Regions from separate parts of the Homo sapiens genome. Here all the other regions are linked to region 3. The links are contacts of gene promoters, found by promoter capture Hi-C in blood cells and fetal thymus (Javierre and others, 2016). All regions are on one chromosome and are shown on one strand. Each heading gives the region's core, a stretch centred on a gene start or on the middle of the fragment in contact. The rest is flanking DNA. Distances are from core to core; before and after follow the strand shown. Region 1 overlaps NUP210 (nucleoporin 210). Region 2 overlaps NUP210 (nucleoporin 210). Region 3 holds the start of IQSEC1 (IQ motif and Sec7 domain ArfGEF 1). Region 4 has its middle 14 kb from the start of HDAC11-AS1.

Region 1 (3,239 bases), core at 296-2,795, 290 kb before region 3:
TTATTTTTCTTTAACTGAGTTTTGCTCCCTCGTTGCCTACGTGGGAGTGCAATGGTGCGTTCTCGGCTCACTGCAACCTCCGCCTCCCAGGTTCCAGCAATTCTCCTGCCTCAGCCTCCCAAGTAGCTGGGATTACAGACAGGCGCCACCACACGCGGCTAATTCTGTATTTTAATAGAGACGGGATTTCTCCATGTTGGTCAGGCTAGTCTCAAACTCCCGACCTCAGGTGATCCTCCCACCTCAGCCTCCCAAAGTGCTGGGATTGCAGGTGTGAGCCACCATGCCCGGCCGTGAATTAAACATTTTTATTTTTCTTTTGAGACAGAGTTTCACTCTTATTGCCCAGGCTGGAGTGCAATGGTGCGATTTCGGCTCACTGCAACCTCTGCCTCCTGGGTTCAAGTGATTCTCCCGTCTCAGCCTCCGGAGTAGCTGGAATTACAGGCATGCGCCACCACACCTGGCTAATTTTTTGTATTTTTAGTAGAGACAGGGTTTCTCCATGTTGGTCAGGCTGGTCTTAAACTCCTGACCTCAGGTGATCCGCCCATCTCAGCCTCCCAAAGTGCTGGGATTACAGGCGTGAGCCACCGTGCCTGGCTGAATTAAATATTTTTTTAAAAATCAGGGCCGGGTGCGGTGGCTCATGCCTGTAATTCCAGCACTTTGGGAGGCTGAGGGGGGTGGATAATGAGGTCAGGAGATTGAGATCATCCTGGCTAATATGGTGAAACCCCATCTCTACTAAAAATACAAAGAATTAGCTGGGCGTGGTGGCGCATGCCTCTAATCCCAGCTACTCGGGAGGCTGAGGCAGGAGAATCGCTTGAAGCCGGGAGGTGGAGCTTGCAGTGAGCTGAGATAGCACCACTGCACTCCAGCCTGGGAGACAGAGTGAGACTCTATCTCAAAAAAAAAAAAAAAAAAAGAAAGAAATCAGATCAAGGATCAAGCCTGGGATGAAAGAGGGGGCCCCCAGCCTGTTGTGCCTTCCCCACCAAAGGTGATTTCAGGGCTGGGCACAGTGGCTCACACCTGTGATCCCAGCACTTTGGGAGGCTGAGGCAGATTGATCACTTGAGGTCAGGAGTTCAAGACCAGCCTGGCCAACATGATGAAACCCCGTCTCTATTAAAAAAAATACAAAAATTAGCCGGGTGTAGTGGTCCATGCCTGTAGTCCCAGCTATCTGGGAGGCTGAGGCAGGAGAATCACTTGAACCCCGGAGGCGGAGGTCGCAGTGAGCCAAGATCATGCCACTGTACTCCAGCCTGGGCAACACAGCGAGACTCCATCTCAAAAAAAAGAAAAAAGTGATTTCAGGGTGACCATCTAGTTCTCTCCTTTCTGTAGGGAGGCTGCCGCCAGGCTCTGAGCACTGCAGCGGCATCCGGGTAAAGGCCGAGGCCCAGGGCTCTACCACGCTTCTTGTGAGCTACAGACACGGCCACGTCCACCTGAGTGCCAAGATCACCATTGCTGCCTACCTGCCCCTCAAGGTGAGCCAGGGGCCCTGCCCTTTACCACCCCCCTGCCCACTCCTTCCCAGATGCAAATTACCCATTTGCTCTGACGAATTTGCATGATAAACCCGATTCCTTCAAAATAGCTTTTGGCACAGCTTCCTCTCCCATGATTTCTGGCTGAAAGCAGGATTCATGTGGAAGGAGCAGAGCCTCCCTGATGGGGCAGTGGTTGTGGGCATCTCTGTGGTTACGCGAGACAGCGCTTGGCAGGCTTGGCAGGACACCGACCTGCCAGCCTCTCCCAACGAAGGTAGGAGTGTGGGCTGCAAGGGCTTCAGAAGTGTGTTCAGCAAGGGTCAGAACAGGGGAGTGCTTCTGCTCCACTCCAGAGCTAACCTTCAGGGTCCCCACAGAGCCCTAGAATTAGGACAGCGGCCGTGTGGTATGGCAGATGCTGAGGCCTCCAAGACTGGGGTCAGAGAGGATCTGCCCTGGCCTAGTGTGCATCCATCCTGCTCCCCATCTGAGGACAGTGGTGGCCACGGCCTGTGCGGAGCAGACCACATAGCCTCAGTGTCCATACCACCCTCCTGAGCTGAGACCAGCCTGACCCCCACCCACTCTTGGGCCTTACATTCCCTGCCTGTAAAATGGGACTGAGACAGCTCTTGCCTCATGGGGTCGTGATGAGGATTTGCTGAGCTCACAAATGGAATGAGCTCAGAACACAGTCTAGGGGGTAGTGCAGGCTCAGGAAGGGTTAGTTATTATACACGGATAAAAAAGAACTGGGCCTTCCTCTGGGGTGGGTGTGAAGGCTCCGTGCGAGGGCTGCCATGCAGGAGGCTGCTGACTAATCATTCCTTTCTTTGAACTCTGCCTAGCTTGCAGGAGGCGCAGAGAGGGTTTGTTGATGGGGAGTTCCTGCTCCTCCTTCCAGGGAGGGCTGGAGAGCAGTCCTAGGGGAGCCCCAGACTCCCTGGCTTGGTCAGGCAGTCCTTGCATTTTTCTGCTCCCAGTGTCAGCCTTGAAGACAGCTCCGGTCCTCATGGTTTGTCCCATTTTTTTCTTCCTCTCAGGCATTCATTGGAAGCAAGCCTGGTGATGTTAGGATTTCTTTTTCTTTTTCTTTTATTTGTTTATTTTTTTTGAGACAGAGTTTCACTCTTGTTGCCCAGGCTGGAGTGCAATGGCGCCATCTCTGCTCACCGCAACCATTGCCTTCCAGGGTTAAGCGATTCTCCTGCCTCGGCCTCCTGAGTAGCTGGGATTACAGGCATGCACCACCATCCCCGGCTAATTTTGTATTTTTAGTAGAGACAGGGTTTCTCCATGTTAGTGAGGCTGGTCCCGAACTCCCGACCTCAGATGATCCTCCCACCTCAGCCTCCCAAAGTGCTGGGATTACAGGCGTGAGCCACCGTGCCTGGCGATGTTAGGATCTTTTATCTCTGAACCCCTAGCCCTGGGTTCAGTGCCTGGCACAGAGCAGACATCAACCAAGGGTGGTTTTGTTTAGAATGAACGTGTGAGGAAATGTATCCAAGGTCACCCAGCCAGGGCAGAAGCCAAGGCCTCCTGACCTCCAGAGCAAACATAACAGACACTTCTCAGATGTCCATTAGTGATCAGAGGCCTAGCCCTGCTCCTCATCCTCCACACATTTGTTCCTTTAGCACACAGGCATGAATACCTACCTACTTGTGCAATCCCTTCTGCAGGCCCTAGAGTTGCACCAGGGCAGAGAACACAGAACCTTTGTCCCCATGA
Region 2 (3,198 bases), core at 149-2,648, 270 kb before region 3:
TGCAAAGAGTGGCACCAACGTCCCTGGTCTCCTCCCAGGCTAATCCGGAGGGTGTGCTAGAAGAGCAACCTCTGGGGGTCTGGGTGCTCCCATATCGGCAGGGCTGTCCTGTGGGGCCACCCCTGGCTCCACAGGCCAGGTGGCTGGGGCTGTACATTGCTAATGTGTCCCCAGGCGCTGCTGACATTGCTGCTTAGTGACCACACACTGAGAACCGCTGCTCTAAGGGGATGGCTCAACTGCATAAAAGCCATCCCTCCAAGGGGACGGCCCAGCTTTTGGGTTTTAACATCTAGGGAAAGTGAAACACAGTCACAAACAGAAGAACACACCCCAGAGAACCAGGGAGCCTCGGCCAGTGGCTGGGAGACAGCCCCCAGCATTGGCCCAGGACCCTGGGCCCTCTGGTCACTGCTCAGAGAGAAGTGATGTCCATGTCCCAGGTTTTCCTCTCATGAAACATGTAGTGTGTGAGTTATGCTTGGCGCCATGGGCTTGGGGCACAGTAGTCCTTTCTCTCCTGTGTCTCTCAACAGGTCTTTCCCCCGTTCAGGCTGATGCCCAGGAAGGTGACACTGCTTATCGGGGCCACGATGCAGGTGAGAGCCAAGAGGCCACGTCCTGCTCCAGCCCCAGTGCAGGCCACCACCTGGTTCCAGGCACGCCGCCTCTGGCCCTGCGTGCAGTGACTGGGAGAAGAAGGCAGAAGCTGCCTGCACTGGGGCCCTGGCTCTCTGAGTGGGAGGTGCGGGCTGCCTGGCATGACGGGCACTGACACGCCGCTGTTTCCTCCCCGCTCAGGTCACCTCCGAGGGCGGCCCCCAGCCTCAGTCCAACATCCTTTTCTCCATCAGCAATGAGAGCGTTGCGCTGGTGAGCGCTGCTGGGCTGGTACAGGGCCTCGCCATCGGGAACGGCACTGTGTCTGGGCTCGTGCAGGCAGTGGATGCAGAGACCGGCAAGGTGGTCATCATCTCTCAGGTAACAGGCGTGCTATTGGAGACTGGGCAGCTGTGCCTGGGACAGAAGCCTCTTTACTGTGTTTGAGTTCTACCTCTGAGGACCACCCCTCTCCAAGGGTGCTGCTTCTGCCCCCTGGGTCTGCAGTCACTGCAGGGGCCCTGGTGCAGGACAGCCCTGCCAATATGGGAGCACCCAGACCCCCATTGGTTGTTCTTCTCCAAGCTGAGTCTCCCAGTCCTTCCAGCTGCTCCTTATGGGACAGGGTGTTCAGCAACTCCCGGCCCCAAAGGGCCCTTCCAGTGGAGGATGATGGCAATCATGGTGAAGGCAGATGCTGCTCTGAGCACTTTGCCTTCATCTCCTTGAATCCTCTCAAGGCTCAGGGCTAAAATCAGGGCCTTTGCATTCTCCCTGACCTCCTTCGCCAGCAGTGACTTGCAGAAGCATCTCGGAAGGCTGCTTTGGGGTTCCACTCACAGCTGCGCCAGAAACCTGGTCTGTAAGAAGAGCCTTCTGTGATGTGTAATGCAACTGTGGACAGAAACCTGTTTCAGAGTCAGTCATACCATTCCTCATGAGAACTAGGTCCCCTGGAAGCAGTCCGTGCAGTCCTGAGTTCAGAACCTGTAAACACAGCACCCCAGAAGCTGGCAAGTGCACCGCCCTAGAGGGGGTGCAGGGAAATGCTTGTTCTCAGAGGCTGACTGTGATCCGTCATTGAGTTCATTGATTTACTCCTTTTCCCAGTGTGTGTCAATTATGAAGACAAAGAGAAAGACTTGGGGATGTAAAAACCTGTCCTGGGGATGGGGTAGGGTTCAGATGGGCTTCCTGGAGCGTGACATTCCAGACCACAGGAGACTCTGTGGTTTTTTTTCTCTAAAAAGGAGTGCAGCCTCAGGAGCTGGCTGATTTTTCTCCTGAGGGCGTAGGTAAAGGGCAGCTGGCTAGAAATTCAGCAAGAGGGGCACAGGGCCCTGCGTATTCCTTGTCTTTGTGGTCTAACCTTGCTGGGCACCCTCCCTTCTAGGTCCCCCATCTGGCAGGTTGGGGAGGTGCTGGGGAAAGGCCCTGGTGGTCCTTGGCAGGTGGAGGGGCTGCACCACGAGCCCTATCTGAAAGGCATGTTCTGAGCCCAGGCAGGCAGAGGTTTCACCTGCGGCGCCTTGTCCATGCCTGGAATGTGATTCTGGTCAGATGCTTCCAGTTCCATCTGTCCAATCCAGAGCACACAACCAGCACCCCAAGGCCGTGGGGTGGGCCAGGACTAGCAGGAAGAGACTGAGCAGAAAGATGAGTGAAAGGAGGGGAATGGGTGCTTTTCAAGCACTTACTGTGTGCCAGGCATTAGCCCAAGTCATGAGCCTCAAGATGGGCTCAGCCTGAGCACGTCAGAGAGTCTAAGGGTTTTAATAGCCTCAGTTCAGCATGACTCAGCAGCACTAGGAAGAAGCCAGGAGAGTTAGTCTTTGGCCAGATTAATAGGAGTGTGGAGTTCAGAATGAAGGAGGTTATAAGTTCTGATCAGACTCTACAGGGCTCCTGCATTCGTCCCTGTACCCTGCTCAGTCAGAGACAGGCAGGCTGGATTTGGGGTTGGGAGGGCCTGGAGACCTTTTGCTTGAGGGCAGCCAGGCCTAAGGAAGAGCAGGCACCAGTCCCCGGCCCCAAGTCTGCAGTGCTGACCTGGAACAGCTGGATCAGACAGGGCAGCAGCCTCAGGGGACTGGGTTGGGACCTGCGGGGCCTTGGGAGAGGCAGTGGCTGGCCCATGAGGGGAGAGCCACTCACAAAGCCAGGCCTCCCTCGGCAGAGGAGCATGGTGCTGGTCATCCTGAGGGGCCTTCTCGCCACAGACTCTGAGCCGCAGCCTGCTTCCCTTGAGGGGTCCCTTCCTGAAACATCCCTGGCCAGCACTGCATCCCCACACCTAAGTGCCACCCTGTTTCCCCAGGACCTCGTGCAGGTGGAGGTGCTGCTGCTAAGGGCCGTGAGGATCCGCGCCCCCATCATGCGGATGAGGACGGGCACCCAGGTGAGGGGACCTCCTGGGCTCTGAATCCTGGTTCCCGAAGAGCCACTGCTGGGACCCTGTCCTCAAGTTAGAGTGCTTCTCCACCTCCTCCATCTGCCTGGCCCGGGTATCTAGGGCCTGCTTCCCACCTGTCCCCACCCAGGGAGACACCCTCCATTGCTCTCTGGTAGCCACTGATGAAGGCCTGCTTCCTGCTGGCC
Region 3 (2,998 bases), core at 481-2,980:
GTGGGGTGGGCTCTGCAACATGTTAACCCACAGAAATATGAATTCCTCACATGACTCAGGGAGGGAGGTCCGTGCTACAGGAAGATTGGTCATGCATATGGATTCACCTGGAGAGGGCAGATCGGGAAGCGTCATGCAGTTCTGTTCGATGCCTCACCTTGGCCACCTGAGGCCGCAGCTCCAACCTCTGCTCCCTACCAGGACACTGAGCTGGAAGACTGGGGTCCTAGTCCCACCTCTGCCACTCTTTGCTGTGCAACTTTAGGCAAATCGCTCACCCCCTGAGGTTCATTTCCTCCCCTGTAAAGGATGGAATGGAACTCAAGGATGCAGCATCACTCCTTCTAAATTCGGTGAGTGTGAATCTGGAGAGAATGGAAAGAGGAAGGGAAATGGCCCTGTGGGCTGCCATCCACATCCAGCCGATTCCCAGTCTCAACTACTCCCTCTCTCATTTATTCCTCCCAGTGAGGCAGCTTTCAAGCAGTCAAGAACCAAGACTCTGGAGCCAGACTGCCCGCCAGCTATGTGGCTTGGGCCAGTTGCTGAACCTCTGGCTTTAATGCGCTCCCCCGTGAAGTAGGATGATAGTATTAGGCCTCATTGGGGTTGTCTTGAGGATTACCGTGCACGGAAGAATATTATCTACATGCCTCTGAGATAGGTCTGGGATTCCTGGTTTACAGATGAGGAAGCAGAGAGGATCAGATGAACATCAGACAGGAAGAGAGAAATCTGTGTGGGAAAGGCGGGTGTGGGAGCCGAGGATGGATGTGCGCTTCTCCCCTCCACCTCCCTGTCGCACACTGCACCACGCTGGCCTCCTCTGGGCCAGTCAAATACACCAGGCTGCCTTCCGCCTCAGAGCCTTGACGCCAGCTCCTCCCCTGCTTCTTGCGTCATCCGAGTCTCAGCCACACGTGCCTCACAGAGGGCCTTCCCGACCACCCCGTCTGATGGCAGAAGCCTCCTTCCCGCCTCTCTTGGGGTCCCTGCCTCCCCTCTTCCTGCTCTCTTTTCATCCTGATCCTTATCACCACGTGCAATCCTATATCTGCACACTTACTTCCTGGCTTCCCCTTAGACTGTAAACATCATGAGGGCAGATACTTGCCCGGCACATGGAAGGTCCTCGGGAGAGGAAGAGGCACCATAGCTAGACCAGAAATTCTCCCTAGCCACGTGCAGCCCCCTTTGGGACAGGACTGGCACAAACGAGGACTGCTCTGCCATCCACCGTGCAGCTACTGGCGTGGTGCGCCCTCCTGGAACCCCGTGGTATAGCTGTTATGATCCCTTTCACAGTAGCATAATCAAGACTCCCAGGAGAGACGCGGCTTGCCAAGGTCTCATCGCCCTTCAGTGGCAGAGACAGCCTTGGAGTCGGCCGGCCTCACTCCAGGGCCAGAGCCCCGAGAGCTCCGCGGCTCGCGTGTCTCAGTGCCGAAGGCAGAAAAGCCGCCTTGGAAAGTAGTGTCATCGTAGGCTCCGCGCGGCGCGTGCATTTTAGCAACAGACTTCCAGGTTTCCAGCGCGGGCCAGGAAGGGGCCGGCGCCCCGCGCCCCGCCGGGTGTGTGACTTTGCCGCGAGGGCGCAGCCGAGCGGCCGCGCCTGATGCTGCTGTTGCCATGGCGACCAGCGCCTCGGCGATTGGTCCGGCGCGGCCGCACTACGTTGCTCCTTGGGCGCGGGGGGTGGGGGAGGCTCCGGCGCGCCCGCCCCTTCTCCGGATGCTGCGAGAGCAAACCCGGGGCAGCCTTCTCTCGACCCTCCCCTCCTCATCCCCGCGCCCCGCACCCCGGATGGACGGGAGGGAAAAACCCCAAGGTGGGCCCAGGTAGCAGCGAGGTGGACGCCCCCGCCCAGCCTGGCGACCACGGTTACTCGACGTCCTCGCTCGCTCCTGGGCACGGTGTGAGCGCGCGCTACGTGCCAGGGCCCTCCACAGCCCGCTGCTGGCGCCGCCCCCCGCTCCCGCCCCAGCCTCCCTGGAGGAGCCCGCCACCCCCGGGAATGTGACTCGCCCCGCGATTTAATTTTATTCCCCTCCACTTCTTGCCTGAGCCGCCTGCTCCTCTTGGAAACACGTTGAGCCTCCCCGCTGGAGAGGGAGCCAGAACAGGGAAGAACGGATTCACACAGGATGGCTTGCAGAAGACGCTATTTGTGAGTATATGTGGCAGGTTTCTGCCTGAAGCCAGAGGCCAGAGGGGCCCGGCTGAGCTGGGAGCTGGAGTGAGGGGCATCGTTGGGGGAGGGGCAGGTGGATGTGCAGGTGACTTGCAGAGGGAGCTGGCCACCCAGCAGGGATGCCGGCGCTCGGCCCCTGCAGCGGAGGTGTTTGTTGGTGATGACGATGAGAAAAAGGCTATTAGTCAGCAGGTCTTCAGCAGGCTGTGAAATTCCCAACTGTGAGAGCAGGTATCCCCCCTCCCAGATCCACATTCAGGGTGCCCAGACCGGCTCCTACTGTTTTGGCTTTGGTTTAGCCCATAGCCTGTTTAGGAAGAGAATCTCTGCCCAGCACGCCCATGGCCAGCCCTTCAGCCATGCCTGATAGAAGGTCGCAGGCAGGCTGAGGCAGTGGCCAGGATGCTGCGTCCTCCAAGGGCAGGTGAAGGTCCAGCCCACCGTCCCTAGCACGGAGGCATCAGTGTCCAGCTGTGTGCCCAGGTGTTCTGTGGGCTGGCAGCAGAGCGGCTGTGTGCTGGGCCTCACGCCAGCAGCAGAGGCTGTGAAAGTCTGCACGGGGCGGTGACATCACGGGCCCGGGTATTTATGGAAACCAAAGCCTGCGCTTCGGTTAGCCAGGCTTCCCAGGGGGCAGTGGGGTTCGAATGCCAGCTTCCCTCACAGCTCTCTGGGCGCTGCACTGTGCTGTTCTAGGAGGAGCAACCTTTGCCCTCCTCTGGGACCCTCGGCTGCGGGGGTTGAGGCCCAGCGTCAGGTCTCCACCTGCCTAAACTATTTGCCCAGGACCCACTCATTTGGGGCTGT
Region 4 (3,307 bases), core at 521-3,020, 390 kb before region 3:
TCCTATCTATTTTGTTTGTAGAAGCAACAAAACTGGAATGGACCCAAATGCCAAAGGATAGGGAAATAGTTAAGCCAACAAGTAGAGTACTTTGCAGTTAAGAGAAGTTAATTCCCGGATGCCTCCGAGGAAAAGGAGAAATGTGTATCTTAACCAAGAAAACTAAGTGGAGCCCAGGTTTATAAGTAAACACTGACCCTTGTTACTTATAAAAGCCACACATAGCATGCTGGTCAACTGCCCACAGGCACTCGGGTCCACTTCTGCCCTGCCCTTGTCCTCTGGCTTCTTATTCAGTCAGTGGCCACTGGTGCTGGAACGCTAGAGGGTGAGAAGAGAGGATAAAGCAGGGCATTTCTCCCCTGGGTGCCCTTTGACATCTCCAGCAGAGGGAGGGTCTTCTCCTCTGTGGCTTCAGCTCTGCCTTGTCCCCCTGGGAACTTCGGTGGTCCCATCGCCTACCAGAAAGACCCTTCCTACGGCTCTAGCTCCTACGGGGCACCCCAACTCCTGGGTCACACCTATTACCTTCTCTTTATTCCTAGGAATGGGAGTGGCCTCCTGCTGAACTAATCCCTCTAACCTCACTGCCACTGCCTCCACCACCAGAGCAACCAATTCCCTGTATTAAATTCCATGAGAGAGCTTTGTGTTTTCCTGGCTGGCTCCAGGCTGATACTTGCACTAAGGGATAAAAATAAGAAGTGTGTTTGTTTGTTTGTTTTGAGACAGAGTCTTGCTCTGTTTCCCAGGCTGGAGTGCAGTGGCTTACTGCAACCTCCGCCTCCCGGGTTTAAGCAATTCTCCTGTCTCCACCTCCTGAGTAGCAGGGACTACAGGTGCGTGCCACCATGCCCAGCTAATTTTTGTATTTTTAGTAGAGATGGAGTTTTGCCATGTTGGCCAGGCTGGACTTGAACTCCTGACCTCAGGTGATCTGCCCACCTCAGCCTCCCAAAGTGCTGGAATGAGCCACTGTGCCAGGCTGCATCCTCGGCAGATGGGAATGTGATCTCCGTGACAACCAGCAAAGACCACTCCTGAGGCCCAGATGGTACCGAGGATACCTCAGTGGAGGCTACTGACCCCTCCCACCCATGACTTAGCACCACATTTAATCCCTGGAGAGTGTAGGCGCATCCTAGAAATAGGAAGAAGGGAAATATTGAGTTGCCACCCTACAGGAATAAGATCTGGAAAGAGAAATTAAGATAGGATATAAAAAATAAAGAAAGGTACGATTTGTGCGCAAATTAGTTTATAGACTAGAATTCAAATCCACTACAACTGAGAGAATAATTGGCCTTCAGTGGAATGCAAAGAGGGTGATAAAGACACTAGAATGCAGTGGAAAATGTTCCAGCATTGGAGGGAAAGAATCCTCCCACTCCCTGGAATTGCCCACTTTGAAGTCAGCAGGGTCCTTCAATATTAAGCAGCATGACCCCTCATTTCATAGTCAAAAAAAACAGATGTCCAGGGAGGCTCAATAGCTGGCCTGAGATCTCACAGTCAGCTAATGTGGGGAGCAAGAACCCGAGCCTGTGGTTTTCTCTGCTACACTTGGGTGGCTGCTGGGTCTTGCTGCAAAGACCCAAATTGCTTCTTAATTGGAGTCTCCTGCTTAATTAGCTGCTTCCTGAGCAGCCCGTGCTCCCTGTCTGGAAATCTCAATCAACACCATCTTCTCTAAATTGCTGTGACCTCGCTCTTCTCATCTCTTCCATGCAGGGATTCACTTCTTGGTTTTGCCCAGTGGGACAGCTGGGGAGAGGATGGGCCATGTGGACAGCCTCTGCAGAGAGAAAGCAGCTGTTCTTACCACCATGCCTGCTCCAGGGACTTCAGAGGGCTTCACAACCACCCCAAGAGGGTTGGGACTGGGGAACAGGAAGACTGGGTCCAATCCTGGATTTGCCACTAACTCCCCGTGTGATCTTGGGAAACCTCTGTCACTCTAGGGGCTTCAGTGACCATTAAATTACGGTTTCTCCTCTAAATTAGGGTCACTAGGCTTAGCAAATAAAAATGCAAGATACTGAGTTACATTTGAATTTCAGTAAGCAACACCATTTTTTAGTATAAGTGTGTCCCATGCAGTAAGTGTATTTGAGATATACTTATACCAAAAATTTTTTTTGGTATCTGAAATTCAAATTTAACTAGGCATCCTGTATTTTATCTGACAATCCTACCCCACATGGAAAAATTCTGTTCCATCTGCTGTGCGGAGGCAGCCTGATGAAGCATACACAGCACAGCTTGAGGGTGAGGCAGTCCTGAGTGTGAATCCCAGAACTGCCACCCAGCCTGTGTGATCTTGGGCAAGTCAGTTCACCTCTCTGAACCTCAGTTGCCCAGAGTAGAAAATGGATATATTAATCACTGACTGGTCATCTCTCAGGACTAATTAGTTCTCTCTCAAGACTAGCGAAAGAGACCGGAGGCAGTGGCTCACCCTGTAATCCCAATACTTTGGGAGGCAGAGGCAGGAGGATTGCTTGAGCCTAGGAGTTTGAGGCCAGCCTGGACAGCATGGGGATACCCCGTCTCTACCAAAAAATACAAAAATTAGCCAGGCATGGTGGCACAGGCCTGTAGTCCCAGCTATATTCAGGAGGCCGAGGTGGAAGGATCCCTTGAGCCCAGGAGGGCAAGGCTGCAGTGAGCCGTGATCATGCCATTGCACTCCAGACCCTGTCTCAAAAAAAAGATTAGTGAAAGGACATAATTTAAATCCCTTTATAGACTGCAAAGTTTGCAATAAACTCGAACATTTATTAAGAACCTGCTATAAGCAGGTTATACAACACATTCTACCAAATATTATGGGAAATAGAGATAACAGTGCAATTGGAAAGACATTTGTAAGAAAAGCCCAAGGCTATCTATTTTTCACAGAATCCTTCCATAAAGTGAAATCCCATCAAGAATCTGAATTTGGACTGCTACGAACTGATAAGGAATTTGATGCTTCAGGAAAAAAATTTGTGCAGTCTTGGGAAACAGTCATGCCTGGGCTTGACGTCAGAAAGAGCTGGAGCGATTCCCTTAGACCGACTGGACTTTCACGTTCCCACCGACAGGTATCCCATTTGGGAGGAGACCTGGCTGATCTAGGGTGATCAAAGTCATCAGCTTAGGTGGAATCTTTCTCACCTTGACTTGGGCCTTGGAGATGCCTCTGCGGTCAGGGATGAGCAGACTTCATTTGGTTCCCACCATCCAGAACCCTAGAATGGTGGGAGTCGGTGGAATTGCCAGCCCAGCACCTGTCCTCAGGGAACCAGCTGTTCCCCTCAATCCA

What was found. Contacts are between HindIII fragments. The CHiCAGO score rates a contact against its expected background, and 5 or more counts as called.
Region 1: a contact is called between a fragment that was not itself captured here and the fragment with the promoter of IQSEC1 in region 3, in 1 of 17 cell types (naive B cells). The highest score is 6.9, in naive B cells.
Region 2: a contact is called between a fragment that was not itself captured here and the fragment with the promoter of IQSEC1 in region 3, in 2 of 17 cell types (naive B cells and total B cells). The highest score is 6.3, in naive B cells.
Region 4: a contact is called between a fragment that was not itself captured here and the fragment with the promoter of IQSEC1 in region 3, in 8 of 17 cell types (total B cells, naive B cells, M2 macrophages and 5 more). The highest score is 10.7, in total B cells.

What each region holds. Positions count from the first base shown.
Region 1 is chr3:13,364,209-13,367,447 of GRCh38, reverse strand. It overlaps NUP210 (nucleoporin 210), which reads left to right. Exons shown (of 40, transcript NM_024923.4): 14 at 1,357-1,502. Among named protein-coding and RNA genes, the nearest start is that of NUP210, 54 kb to the left of the region's middle. The HindIII fragment of the contact is 7,208 bases long and covers 1-3,239 here.
Region 2 is chr3:13,337,637-13,340,834 of GRCh38, reverse strand. It overlaps NUP210 (nucleoporin 210), which reads left to right. Exons shown (of 40, transcript NM_024923.4): 24 at 537-599; 25 at 802-981; 26 at 2,918-2,998. Among named protein-coding and RNA genes, the nearest start is that of NUP210, 81 kb to the left of the region's middle. The HindIII fragment of the contact is 3,961 bases long and covers 1-3,198 here.
Region 3 is chr3:13,072,161-13,075,158 of GRCh38, reverse strand. It overlaps IQSEC1 (IQ motif and Sec7 domain ArfGEF 1), which reads left to right and starts at 1,730. Exons shown (of 14, transcript NM_001134382.3): 1 at 1,730-2,167. The coding sequence starts at 2,145. RefSeq lists silencers at 1,355-1,534, 1,655-1,814. The HindIII fragment of the contact is 20,266 bases long and covers 1-2,998 here.
Region 4 is chr3:13,463,909-13,467,215 of GRCh38, reverse strand. No RefSeq gene overlaps it. Among named protein-coding and RNA genes, the nearest start is that of HDAC11-AS1, 14 kb to the left of the region's middle. The HindIII fragment of the contact is 3,587 bases long and covers 1-3,307 here.